Linked DNA regions of Homo sapiens: region 2 is linked to region 1. Evidence: promoter capture Hi-C in 16 types of primary human blood cells and fetal thymus (Javierre and others, 2016). All regions are on one chromosome and are shown on one strand. The core of a region is centred on a gene start or on the middle of the fragment in contact, and the rest is flanking DNA. Distances in the headings are between cores, read along the strand shown. Region 1 holds the start of DNTT (DNA nucleotidylexotransferase). Region 2 overlaps CCNJ (cyclin J).

Region 1 (6,152 bases), core at 1,639-4,138:
TCTTTAATAAGGAAGTGCTGCCTGTCGTCCCTGGTGCCATAGAATTTCATAGGGAAACCTCTGCAGAGCTGGGGCTCAGACTTTTGAGGAGATGTCACCTAAGTGGTATTGATACCTCTGAAGGGTACAGTAAGACTGGGTCTGGTTGTGCAGAAAAGAAAAAAAGAAAAAGAAAAAAGCTAAAGACTAGAACCAATCACTGCTGTCTGAGTAGAGAACCATTACTGCGAAGACCCTGACCTTTGTAGCAGCAAGCAAACAAAAAAGGTCACCTCTTTCCTCTTATCTAGACTTTCAGTCTCCCTCTGGTATCACCATTGGCAGAGCCTGACATAAAGTCAGCTGGCAAATGAGAAAGAGAATTTGCTCAGTCCCAGCCTCAACCTCATGGAATCCATCAGAAAAAAGGTAGATTTGCAGCTGAGAGATGATAGCCTGATAACCAGACAGGCATCAGTACATTTGAAATTTTTGTTGGTAATGTTTTCAATACCAGTGACTCAAAGCAAATTAAAATGTGACATTGTTTAATATGATATTTTGATGATTTAGTAGTTTCACAAAACATATATATCCGATTTCAGATTGAACTGGAATGTCTCTAAAAACAAAACATAAATTACTACGAACTGACATTTATTGAAAGTGCTACCTTTGTGTCAAGCACTCTGCCCAGCAGGTTATGTGGGCTATCTCAGTCCTCATTTTACAGATGGGGTAAAGCTGAGGCTTAAAGAAGTTAAGCAACTTGCTTTGAAGCTTCAGAGCAATAGAGACAGAATTTTTATGGGCAGCCTGACGAAGCCTGAGCTGTTAGCCACATCTCAGTACTACCTCCCCATTCCCTTTACTGCTTAGGTGGTGCACCTTTACTATTAGGTGGCTATACCTTGGGAACGAACACAACAATCCCAGACTCTTGCTAGAATCATTTACTTAACTCCCTGCTGCAGCACCATTTGGTAGCTAAGACTGCATTCTAACATGAAGCATTCAGCTCTTCAGTAACCAAACACATAATAGTGAGGGTCAAAATAGACTCTCATCTTCCAGTTGATCTCTAGCAAACAGTCATAGCATCCGGGAATTTCAGGGCTGCATTATAGGCCCTTACCAGATGTCTGAATTCCCTTCTGTTACAGCTCAATAAACAGTTATCCAGCATCTGTTTGAATACTTTTCATGACTTGTAACACACAACTGTATAAAGCTGCTCTCTGTATATTTTTAGACAGCTGAGTTACTAAACAGGTCTTACTTGCGGAGAACTGGAATCTATTACTCTACAATTTCCACCTGAAGATTTCTGATTTTGCTTTCTTGAGCAACACAGAGTGCTTTACCCATGCCTTAAGGCAGCTGTCACATGACTCTTCCCCTAATACGGTTGTGAGGTGCTCACGTGTTTTGGAGATAGCAAAAGTCTCAAATAATATGGCACAGACGGCCAGCCATGGTGGCTCACACCTGTAATCCCAGCACTCTGAGAGGCCGAGGTGGGCCGATCACCTGAGGTCAGGAGTTCAAGACCAGCCTGACCAACATGGTGAAACCCCATCTCTACTAAAAATACAAAAATTAGCCAGGCGTGGTGGCGTGCGCCTGTAATCCCAGCTATTCAGGAGGCTGAGGTAGCAGGATCGCTTGAACCCAGGAGGTGGAGGTTGCAGTGAGCTGAGATTGTGTCACTGCACTCTAGCCTGGGCAATAAGAGCGAAACTCCATCTCCAAAAAAAAAAAAAAGGACAAAGGGTGAGCAGAGCTCAGATTGGTTATTGGAGAAGACAATACAGAGGAAGGCTCCTTGGTGGTTAAGAGTAGTCTTTTAAAATCAGACAGATCTGAGTCCAAATCCTAGCTCAATCATTTCTCAGTTGTGAAAATTCAGTAGCTCTGTGACCTTGGGCAAATTGTTTAGCCAAATGAGAAAGGTAGGACCACCTGACAGTGGTATTGTGAGGATCCTGTCAGCTAAGGCTGGTAGGTGCTTGCCTTGGCCGTGTAGTAGCTGCTCAGGAAATGAGATCTATAGAGTGTATTGGTGAAAGACAAATTTAATTTTGCACATAAAGTTATGAAAATGTCTCCTTATGGCAGTGGTTATCATCTAAAAGTCATACCATCCCACTGAAGAAGACCTATTTTAGGGTTTATAACAGACTACTCTCTGGACAACCTTAATCCACTTAAAAAACTAATATATGCATACAGCATTTGGAATCCAAAGAACTGAATTCAAGATATGGCTTGGCCCCTTATTCTGTGATCTTGAATAACTGAGCCTTGGTTCTCTTGCTTATAAAATGTACCTATGTAAGTGAACAGGTGGTAATACCCACCATGAAATACTATGGAGCAGTTAGAAGCAACAGAGCAATTAGAATACGGATCTGGAAAACATAGTTCCAAGTGAAATAAAAAGGTGATTGGCAAAATGAGAAATGTAACAATGCCATTTATGTAAAGTCAAAACAACCACAAGCAGAATATAACACCCATGCAAATAACAGACATCCAGTACAGTGTAATGATTGTCTACAAAAGGAGGAGAATGCAAGTGAGTTGGGAGGTTTAAAGGGGATCAATAAATAAAGACCACAGAAGGGCCTCAGTACATTTAGAAATAAATAACATGCAAACAATGATGCTTCCCTACCTTCCTCACGAGGTTACTCTGAGGAGCTAATGAGATTGTGCGTATGAAAACAAAAGTTAATTGACTGTCTTCATTATGATCTCCATATTGGACAAATGAACTGAACAGAGATAAAAATTCCCCATCACACTTTGGCAGGAAGCTGTTGCCAGGGCAGCACCTGTGAAGCCCTGGCCTGGCTTCAGAGTCTGCTGGTGAGATGACATCAAAACCCTTCGTGTAGGAGGGTGGCAGTCTCCCTCCCTTCTGGAGACACCACCAGATGGGCCAGCCAGAGGCAGCAGCAGCCTCTTCCCATGGATCCACCACGAGCGTCCCACTTGAGCCCTCGGAAGAAGAGACCCCGGCAGACGGGTGCCTTGATGGCCTCCTCTCCTCAAGACATCAAATTTCAAGATTTGGTCGTCTTCATTTTGGAGAAGAAAATGGGAACCACCCGCAGAGCGTTCCTCATGGAGCTGGCCCGCAGGAAAGGGTTCAGGGTTGAAAATGAGCTCAGGTAGGACAGCATCGATCTTGCTTTGTAAATAAGCAGAGGCTTTGTGAACAGCTTCTTGGGAACCCAAGGAACCTGTGTTTTCTTCCACATGTGGAAGAGGTGATCTTCCCACTGGGAGAACAGCAGATTTGAAATCAAAGAACAACTAGTTAAGGAAAACGAGATAAGTGGGGACTGAATACAATTATATTGAAACTAGTTGACACCAAAAGATGAGATAAATTTTTTGTTTTTTGCTTTTCACTCCTATGAGATGTGTTATTTAGGGATGATAAGCAGAACACTAATTGGAAAATTTAATGCTGAACCACTCAATTCTATTCTTGACCAATTTGAACAAAGTATCACTGGGTTCAACAAAAAAGTTTTGGCTACTTTGATGCAGAAAGATGATTTGGTTGCTTGGTTCTTACCTATACATCTGGGCGTGCTAAGGCAGCTAGCATCTGTGGTGGGCGAGGATGACTAGCCAGCTTACCACAGGCACCCAGATGTGGCCTTGACCACATTTTTCCAAAGAGTGGTCCTAGTGGGGTTCTTAGAAAGAGAGATGCTAGGTAAAGATGTATTCACTGTTAAGACAGCTCTGTCCAGGGATGACAGACATCACACTGAGTGAGATGTAATCAGAGCCCAGGCAAGGAGGCGATAGAAGCATTTGGACCACCTAGATTGGTTCACTCACTAATCCACTCACCTTGAACAGCAATTATTCTTGTTGTTTTTCTAACTTCTGTGTAAGCTCTTCACTGATCTCAAATAGATGAAGAGAAAACAAGCAAAATCCAGAAACAAATGGTATTAGAACCTTGACATAAGTGATGGTTCTGGATTAAACTGTTAAGGGGCTTGCAATGAAGGAGTAATGATTTATGCAGTTGACCGCTTTGACTGTGCAAGAAATAAATTGACCACAAATTTTCAGGCAAAACTATAAAAATTTTATGTGAAAGGACATTTTGATTGTATAAATAGTCTTTGATATTTGAAAATAAAACTGACAAGCATGTCATGCAGAAGAAATGTCAGCTTCCAAGTGTTGAGGAGACATATTTCAAAAGTCAATTTTCAGATATGTTAATGTTCGCAACACCCTGATTCATATGACATTGACTTTTCATTCATTTTTTGCTAAAATGCCCCATTCAGAAATTCCTGAATTTCCTATGGCCCTTCTTCCACCTGATTTCTCTTTGCAAGGTCTCCTTTTCTCTCTTGCTGCCTCTCTGTAACCTCCTACAGCCACTCTGAATCTCATTTTCTAACATCCTTTCCAAGAAAATCCTAGATTTCATCTAACTGTTAAGCCTGCCTGATATTACAGACTTACATAGAAGGCTAGAGTTGGAGAAGACAGGAAGATTATATAGGTAAAGAAGCCAAAAAAATAGATTTTTTTTTTTTTTTTTTTGAGACAGAGTCTTGCTCTGTTGCCCGGGTTGGAGTGCAGTGGCACAATCTCGGCTCACTGCAACCTCCGCCTCCCAGGTGCAAGTGATTCTCCTGCCTCAGCCTCCCAAGTAGCTGGGACTACGGACACGCGCCACCACAATCAGCTAATTTTTGTGTTTTTAGTAGAGACGGGGTTTCACTATGTTGACCAGGATGGTCTCTATCTCCTGACTTTGTAATCCGCCTGCCTTGGCCTCCCAAAGTGCTGGGATTACAGGCATGAGCCACCACGTCTGGCCAAAAATAGATTTTTTGGAAAAGAAATTAAAAGCCTTAGCAAATATGGAACTGCTTTTCATGGTAAAGAAATTTGACAAGGGTTAGGCAGGAAGGAAAGAACCAGAAGCACCACTTACTGGAAAGCTCTCCATTGAAACGTCCAAGCTTCCAGCAAGGACCCGCTGATTTATTATAGACACAGCAATGAATACATACAAGGCGGCTGAGGCAGGCACTCAGGGAGATGATGGGAGGTAAGTTTCTTCTGTTGGCAGGACAGCTGAAGAGGCAGCTACATGCCCCAGATGCCTGCTGCCAGGGACCAAGCCCAGCTGCTCAGGCGGCGGAGGAAGCTCACTGGTGCATGGTGAGCAAACTGCCGCTGTGCATGTGATGATGGCAAAGTTCCCAGGCTGGTAGCTCAGAAGACACATTAAATACAAATGTGCTCTATGGCGCAAAAATAAACCACAGGAAGTAGAAGTCCTAGGTCTCAAACGGAATTTCTGTGCATAGATATATAGACTTTAATTGGATAGAGAAATAAAAATTATTGTAGGGGACAAATCTCTAGATACGAAATTTAGAAACCTCAAATCCTGGCTCTGAGCCTCCCCAGCCATGGGGTATGGGACAAGGTCCCCTCTCTCCCGACTGATTTTAATATCCTGATAAATGGCCTATCTGATGTGATCACCAAATGAGATAATGCATGTCAATGTGCTTTGATAAATTAAAACAGTTAGACAAATGTAAAGTGTAATTATTTTCTTGTGAATTGCTGGATCCATTGACCTTTACAGCAAAACCCTAAGGAATGGGCTCTCCCTCCACAATATGAACAAGGTCAAATGATATCAACAAATAGAACAAAGACAGGAAAGAAACCCGTCAACATGTTATAACTGGTTTTTTGGGAGTGGGGGTTGGTAGGGAGAGATTATGGCTGTTTTTATTTTCTGGGTTTTCCAGTTTTTTTTTTTTTTTTTTTTTTTTTTTTTTTGAGACGGAGTCTCGCTCTGTCCCAGGCTGGAGTGCAGTGGCACGATCTCGGCTCACTGCAACCTCCACCTCCCAGGTTCAAGCGATACTCCTGCCTAAGCCTCCTGAACAGCTGGGACTACAGGCACGCGTCAGCACGCCCAGATAATCTTTTTTATTTTTAATAGAGTTGGGGTTTCACGATGTTGGCCAGGATGGTCTCGATCTCTTGACCTCGTGATCCGCCCGCCTTGGCCTCCCAAAATGCTGGGATTACAAGCGTGAGCACCGTGCCTGGCCTCCAATATATTTTTTACAATAAGCATATATATATGTATGTGTGTG
Region 2 (6,152 bases), core at 2,629-5,128, 250 kb before region 1:
CCAGTAATGAGATTGCTAGGTAAAAGGGTATTTCTGCCTCTAGGTCTTTGAGGAATCACCACACTGTCTTCCACAATGGTTGAACTAATTTACACTCCCACCAACAGTGTAAAAGCGTTCCTTTTTCTCCACAACCTTGCCAGCAGCTGTCATAACATAAAACTTACCATTCTAACCATTTTTAACTGTACAGTTCAGTGACATTAGGTACATTTGCATTGTTGTCACCACTATCTATCTTTAGAACTTTTTCATCTTCCCAAACTGAAACTCCATACCCATTGAACGATTACTCCCCAATTTCCCACCCTCTAGCTTCTGATAACCACTATTCTACTTTGTCCCTGTAAATAGGACTATTCTAGGTAACTCATTAAGTGGAATCATACAATAAATGTTCTTTCATGACTTTTTTCATTTAGCATACTGTCTCCAAGGTTCAACCATGTAGTATATTATAAGAATTTTCTAAGGCTGAATAATACTCCATGTATATACCACATTTTGTTTATCCATTCATCTGCTGGTGGGCATTTGCATTGTTTCCACCTTTTGGTTATTGTGAGTAATCCTGTTTTGAACATGTGTGTACAAATCTCTCTTCAAGTCCCTGCTTTCAGTTCTTTTGAGTATGTACCTAAACGTGGAATTGCTGGATCATGTGGTAACTCTGTTTAATTTATTGAGGGATTGCCATACTGTTATCTGTAACAACTACATCATTTTACATTCCCACCAGGAATGCACAAGGATTCCAGTTTCTCCACATTCAAGCTAACACTTATGATTATCTGGTTTTGTTTTGTTTTGTTTTGTTTTTTGATAATAGCAATCCAACTAGGTGTGAAGTGCTGTTAGTGGTTTTGATTTGCATTTCCTAATAATTAGTGATGCTGAACAAACATCTTTTTCATGTTTTATGATATTTTTTGGGCATTTGTGTGTATCTTCTTTGGAGAAATGTCTATTCAAATCCTTTGCCCATTTTTATAATTAGGTTTTTTGGTTGTTATCCAGTTGTATAAGTTATTTATATAATCTAGCTATTTACCCCTTATCAGATATGATTATAAATACTTTCATCCATTCTGCGGGTTGCCCTTTTACTCTGTTGATAGCATCTTTTGTTAAACAAAAGTTTTTAATTTTGTTAAAGTCCCATTTCTCTTTTCTTTTTCTTTTTCTTTTTTTTTTTTTTTTTTGCAGGGTAGGGGAAGTTCTGCTTTTGGTATCGTATCCCTGTTACTTCTTCTATTGTGATACCTGTTGGGTTTAGTATCAGTATTATGCTGATCTTATAAAATGAATTTGGAAGCTTTCCATCTTTCTCTATGCTCTGGAAATATTTTAATAGTATAGAATTTTTCCAGTTTTTAAAAAACAAGTTGATATAATATAGTCCTGAGATTGAAGTGATTTTAGGTGTATGAGAGGATGATGGGAAAGGGCAGATCATAAAACTGTTAAAAGGGAAACAAAATTAGAAGATACTAGAGGAAAGGTACTGCTTTCTACACTGTTGCAAGTATAATACTGTATGCAGCATATCCACTTATCTATTACCTTCTAACCAAAAGTTCTGAGCATCTTGGAGAGGTGTAGGGGCGTGTGTGTGGTATGTGGTTGGTTTGTCAGGGATGTTTTTCTGAAAACACCTGGTAGGGAAAACAGGATTCTCTTATTAAAAATCTTTGTAGGATGTATCCATTCTAGAAAGCAAGAAACAAGAACATCTATAATTGTTCACATCAGAAGTGGTTAAGAGTAAGGAGAAAAATTTGGTTTTAAATGTCATTCATTATCCCTCCACTTAACTTTTTCATTTTTGTATTCCAGTCAAGAAAAGTATGTTTTAGGCACTTGTAATACTAATATATTGGAAAAACAATGTTAAGTCATTGCCTTGTGGGGATACGCCTACAGATAGGTCAGACTAAATGTTGTTCCTTTTGACTTAGGAGCTGAAGTTGCCCTCCTATAAAGGCCAGTCCCCTCAGTTAAGTCTCAGACGGTATTTTGCTGACTTGATTGCCATTGTGAGCAATCGCTTCACACTCTGCCCTTCTGCCCGCCATCTTGCTGTCTATTTACTGGACCTGTTTATGGACCGCTATGACATCTCTATCCAGCAGCTGCATTTAGTTGCGCTTTCCTGCCTGCTTCTAGCAAGTAAGTATGAATCTGATTTACATGACTGGAAATTTCTGATGTTTATATAATAAAATAAATTTATGTAGAACTCAGTGAAATATCATCAAATCCCATTCATTCCAGTTCACTAGTATCAAGAAGCTTATGTTAAAAGTGCTTCTCAGTGTAATAATTCTTAACCAGACATTGAAAAATGGCTTTGGAGCCTGTTAAAAACATGTGCCTAAGCCGTACATTCTCGGCCACTCCAGATCTACTAAGACAAAATCTACATAATGGGTACTGGGTATTTTTTAACTTTTTGAAAAAGTTCCAAAGGTGATTTTGATTTACCTTTCCAATTGAGAACCATTGTCTTAAAGCAGTGGTTCTAAACCAGGAGCAGTTTTGTCCCACAGGGAACACTTGGCAACGTGTACAGACGTTTTGGTTGTCACATCTGGTGATAAAGTGGGAGATGCTTTTTTAGCATCTAGTACATAGAGGCCTGGGATGCTGCTAAACATCCGGTAGTGTACAGGACAGTTTCCCATAACAAAATTCTCTGTCCCAAAACATCAATGGAGCTAAAGTTGAGAAACTGTCTTAAAAGTACCATATTCTTATATTAGAATACTTTCTACTGACTAAATAATGAGTTGGCTTAATGAACTAAAAGTTAATGTGCAACTACTATAAATGTGAAAACTTTTGCTTATGCATTAGACCAACTGTGTAGTAGGCTCCAAGATACAATCTGATACAACCATATTTGTTACTTAGTACAGAATATACTGGTGGATCTTTTGGCCCCTCTTTCTCTTTACATCTTCCTATACCTCATTTCATTGCTCGTTGGTACTCTCACTGAAGATAGGGCACGTAAAGGAATTGAAATTGTGTTTTTTTTTCTTTTAATAATGTGGAAGATTGTATTTGATATGGAAGTTGAATCAGTAATATAGTTTCTATATTCATGTTATTACAATGAAATTTATAGTATGTAGATGTATTGATAACCTTCACTTTTAACTCTCACTTGAGGGATAAAGATTGTATTTGATATTGAAGTTAAATCAGTAATGTAGTTTCTGTATTATCCATGTCATTATAATAGAATCTTAAAGGAGTATGTAGATATACTGATAACCTTCACCTCTAACTCTCCCTTGAGGTTTTGGGGTCAAATATGGCTGGGATGAAATAAGGAACATTCCCCCTATATCCATGCCACCAGAGTTCTTTAGCACTTCTGTGCCTGGCTGCTTATAAATCTAAAACCAAATGTAGTCCTATGTAGTATCATTTCTGGTACTAATCTCTTCTCAGATTTTATTTTCTGACCTTTATTCTTCCTTTGATCTGATGACCTCAACTACTTATTTTGTCCCCAGAATGTCCCTTTGTAAGTTATTTCAGATCCATTGTAGAACCAGGCTGAATGTAAATAAAACACAGCTGCAGCATGACTTCCCACTGCCTATATATTAAGGTGGAAACTGCTTAATGTAGTGTTTAGAATCTTTCATCTGGACCCAGCCACCTTTCCAGTCTCATCCCCATGTACGTTGAGCAAAATTCTTAGAATACCATTTACTTCCTGAATATCTACATTTCCCCTTAATCTACTGTTCTCTAAAATTCAGACACTTCACTCATCCCTCATCCCCCTACCCAGGAGCCAGAGAGGTAATGCTTGTACATTTATAATTAACCTTTAATTTAGCCTCTAATTAAAGTTTCATGCTCATAAGTAATCATGTGTGTAATACTGTATGTGTTTAATCACTGGCTGTGAAGCCCTTTGGGGTTTAATAGTTTGTATAAGATTGGAAAAGCTCACACGTGACAGTTTAGATGTGTGAGTCCACAAATAAAATGGATTTTTGTTATTGTACAGAATGTTTATTATAGAATCAGTTTACAGTAGAGTGTCACTGGAAATCAGACATGCAAGTTAGATTATTTTAAAAACTTGGTATCATTAATGGAAAGTAACTGTGTGGCTATCACTGTCATTTTAACACTAGCACCTGCTCTATGCCTGTGATTTTTAAAGTGTAGCGTGGGCCAAGTGGGAAGGCCATCTTTGTGTACCATCTTAGGTTGGTTGGAATGGAGTTTTCAATTGTTCTTATTTTTAAATTGTGTATTTCTGTTAGTTTAAGGTCATGAACAATTTATTTTATTGAACTATTTGGATTAATATCAGTGGTAAGATGTAGTTATTTGTGACTCTTTCCAGTAATTAGACATTAGGATCTGTATTTGCTGGGGTTCAAATATGAATTATCACCTATTACTGAAAGAACTGGATACCTCCCTCCTTTTTCTGCTGATGCCTCCTGATTTCCCTTTCCTTGAGGGAAGAATTGCTTTTACATTCTTCCTTTTGCATTGGAGAGTAGGAATGTATGTGAGGTATTCTTCAGGATTTCTGCTCCTCCCAAGTAGCAAGTTGTTCAAAAGAGTTTGAGCTATCAGCTCTACACCAGGGTCAGGAATTGAAGAGGTTAGCCCTTAGTAGGCAGCAGTCTCTCTACCCTTGCCCCCCAACCCTAGTCTGTAACTTTACAGCAGAAGAGCTTAGGATTCTTATAAACTGATAAACTCTTTTCAGTGTCTGATTCCTGTTTTAAATTTGTGGAGTTCATTGTAATGGGAAGCCGTAGGTGGTTTGGCCAAAGATGGAGCATACCTTGTAAGTTCTAGAAGCAAATGCTTATGTCTACACTATTAGAAGAAGAAAGGGCCTACAGATTATCTCTGATTGGAGAGCTATGTGTAGTGTTTTGGAGCAATGACCATAGTGATGGATTCCCTGGGTTGGAGTCTCATCAGCAATATGAATTTCAACAACCCCTGAATCTCAGGTTATTTCTTTATAAGATGGAAATAAAGATACCTTACAAAGTTGTTCTGGGATCAAGTGGGGGTAATATGTTTAAAAGCATGTAGGAAATGGAAACATTAAAAGATTAGCATGGTAATTATTAATTCCTCCATAAGTTGCTCTGTTACCTTTAGCCTGCCTCCTTTACCCTAAAGGTTTTGACCTATTTCAAACTGGACCCTAATTTGTCCAGGGAAGTTCTCCTATTCCAACTCTTTCACATGTATGCCCTGGCTTCCCTTGGCTTCTGTGACCAACATTACATTTATGGAGCATGTGGAAGTAATCTTGGAGATAAGATTTCTCATAATTTGCTCAAGATCTTACATAACTAAGAAATGATCTTGGAGTCAAGACAAAGTGAAAAGTGAGACAGAGGCTTTTAGTAGTAACAATTTGTAACAAGTGCTTGTTTCCCCTTGCCAACCAACACTGGGTTAGCAAAGCTTTTTACTGATGTGTGAAAATTTATATCTCACAGTTGGTTTAATTTACATCTCAATTTTTAATGAGCTCAGAATTTTTTTCTATGAATTACCTTTTTCTTTTGTTTGCCCATTTTTATATTAGATTCATTTTATAAATTTGTGATAATTCTTAGTGTATGTTAGGGATGACTTTTTTCCCCCTACTTAGTAATAAAAAAATAGAATGTGGGTTGGCAGAGCACTCGGTGACATCTGATCCGTGCCCTATTCAGTATATAAATCTTCTCTACCACATACCTACTATTCACTGCTGGCTTTGAAAATGTGTTGGTTTCCATGGCTGATATGAACATATCCTACAAAGGAAAGACAACCCAGTGTTTTTGTTTCTGTGGCCTCTAATTCTTTATTTTCTGGGAAGCAGATATGAATTTCCTGTGCCCTTATTTCCTATTTGGGGCCTTTATCAATATAATCACATGGCTTCTGTTATTTCCTTTCAATTGAAGAAACTGATCTTTGTGAACTGTGTGTGGTAATGTGGATAAGTAAACTTAAAATGAACATAGGCATAGCAGTGAGCACAACAAAAACTATAGATAGGAATGCAGGTACTCAATTGACATTATCACACTTTTTGAAATCTTTTAATATCCATGTATCTGAATATTTATTACTATACATAATGGAAAAGTTCCAAA

What was found. The method cuts DNA at HindIII sites, captures the fragments that hold promoters and counts their contacts. A CHiCAGO score of 5 or more calls a contact.
Region 2: a contact is called between a fragment that was not itself captured here and the fragment with the promoter of DNTT in region 1, in 1 of 17 cell types (naive CD4 T cells). The highest score is 5.8, in naive CD4 T cells.

Annotation. Positions count from the first base shown.
Region 1 is chr10:96,301,546-96,307,697 of GRCh38, forward strand. It overlaps DNTT (DNA nucleotidylexotransferase), which reads left to right and starts at 2,889. Exons shown (of 11, transcript NM_004088.4): 1 at 2,889-3,155. The coding sequence starts at 2,953. The HindIII fragment of the contact is 4,232 bases long and covers 758-4,989 here.
Region 2 is chr10:96,048,298-96,054,449 of GRCh38, forward strand. It overlaps CCNJ (cyclin J), which reads left to right. Exons shown (of 6, transcript NM_001134375.2): 3 at 1,959-2,169. The region is part of intron 2 of ENTPD1-AS1 (ENTPD1 antisense RNA 1); the gene reads right to left. Among named protein-coding and RNA genes, the nearest start is that of CCNJ, 7.8 kb to the left of the region's middle. The HindIII fragment of the contact is 3,177 bases long and covers 2,291-5,467 here.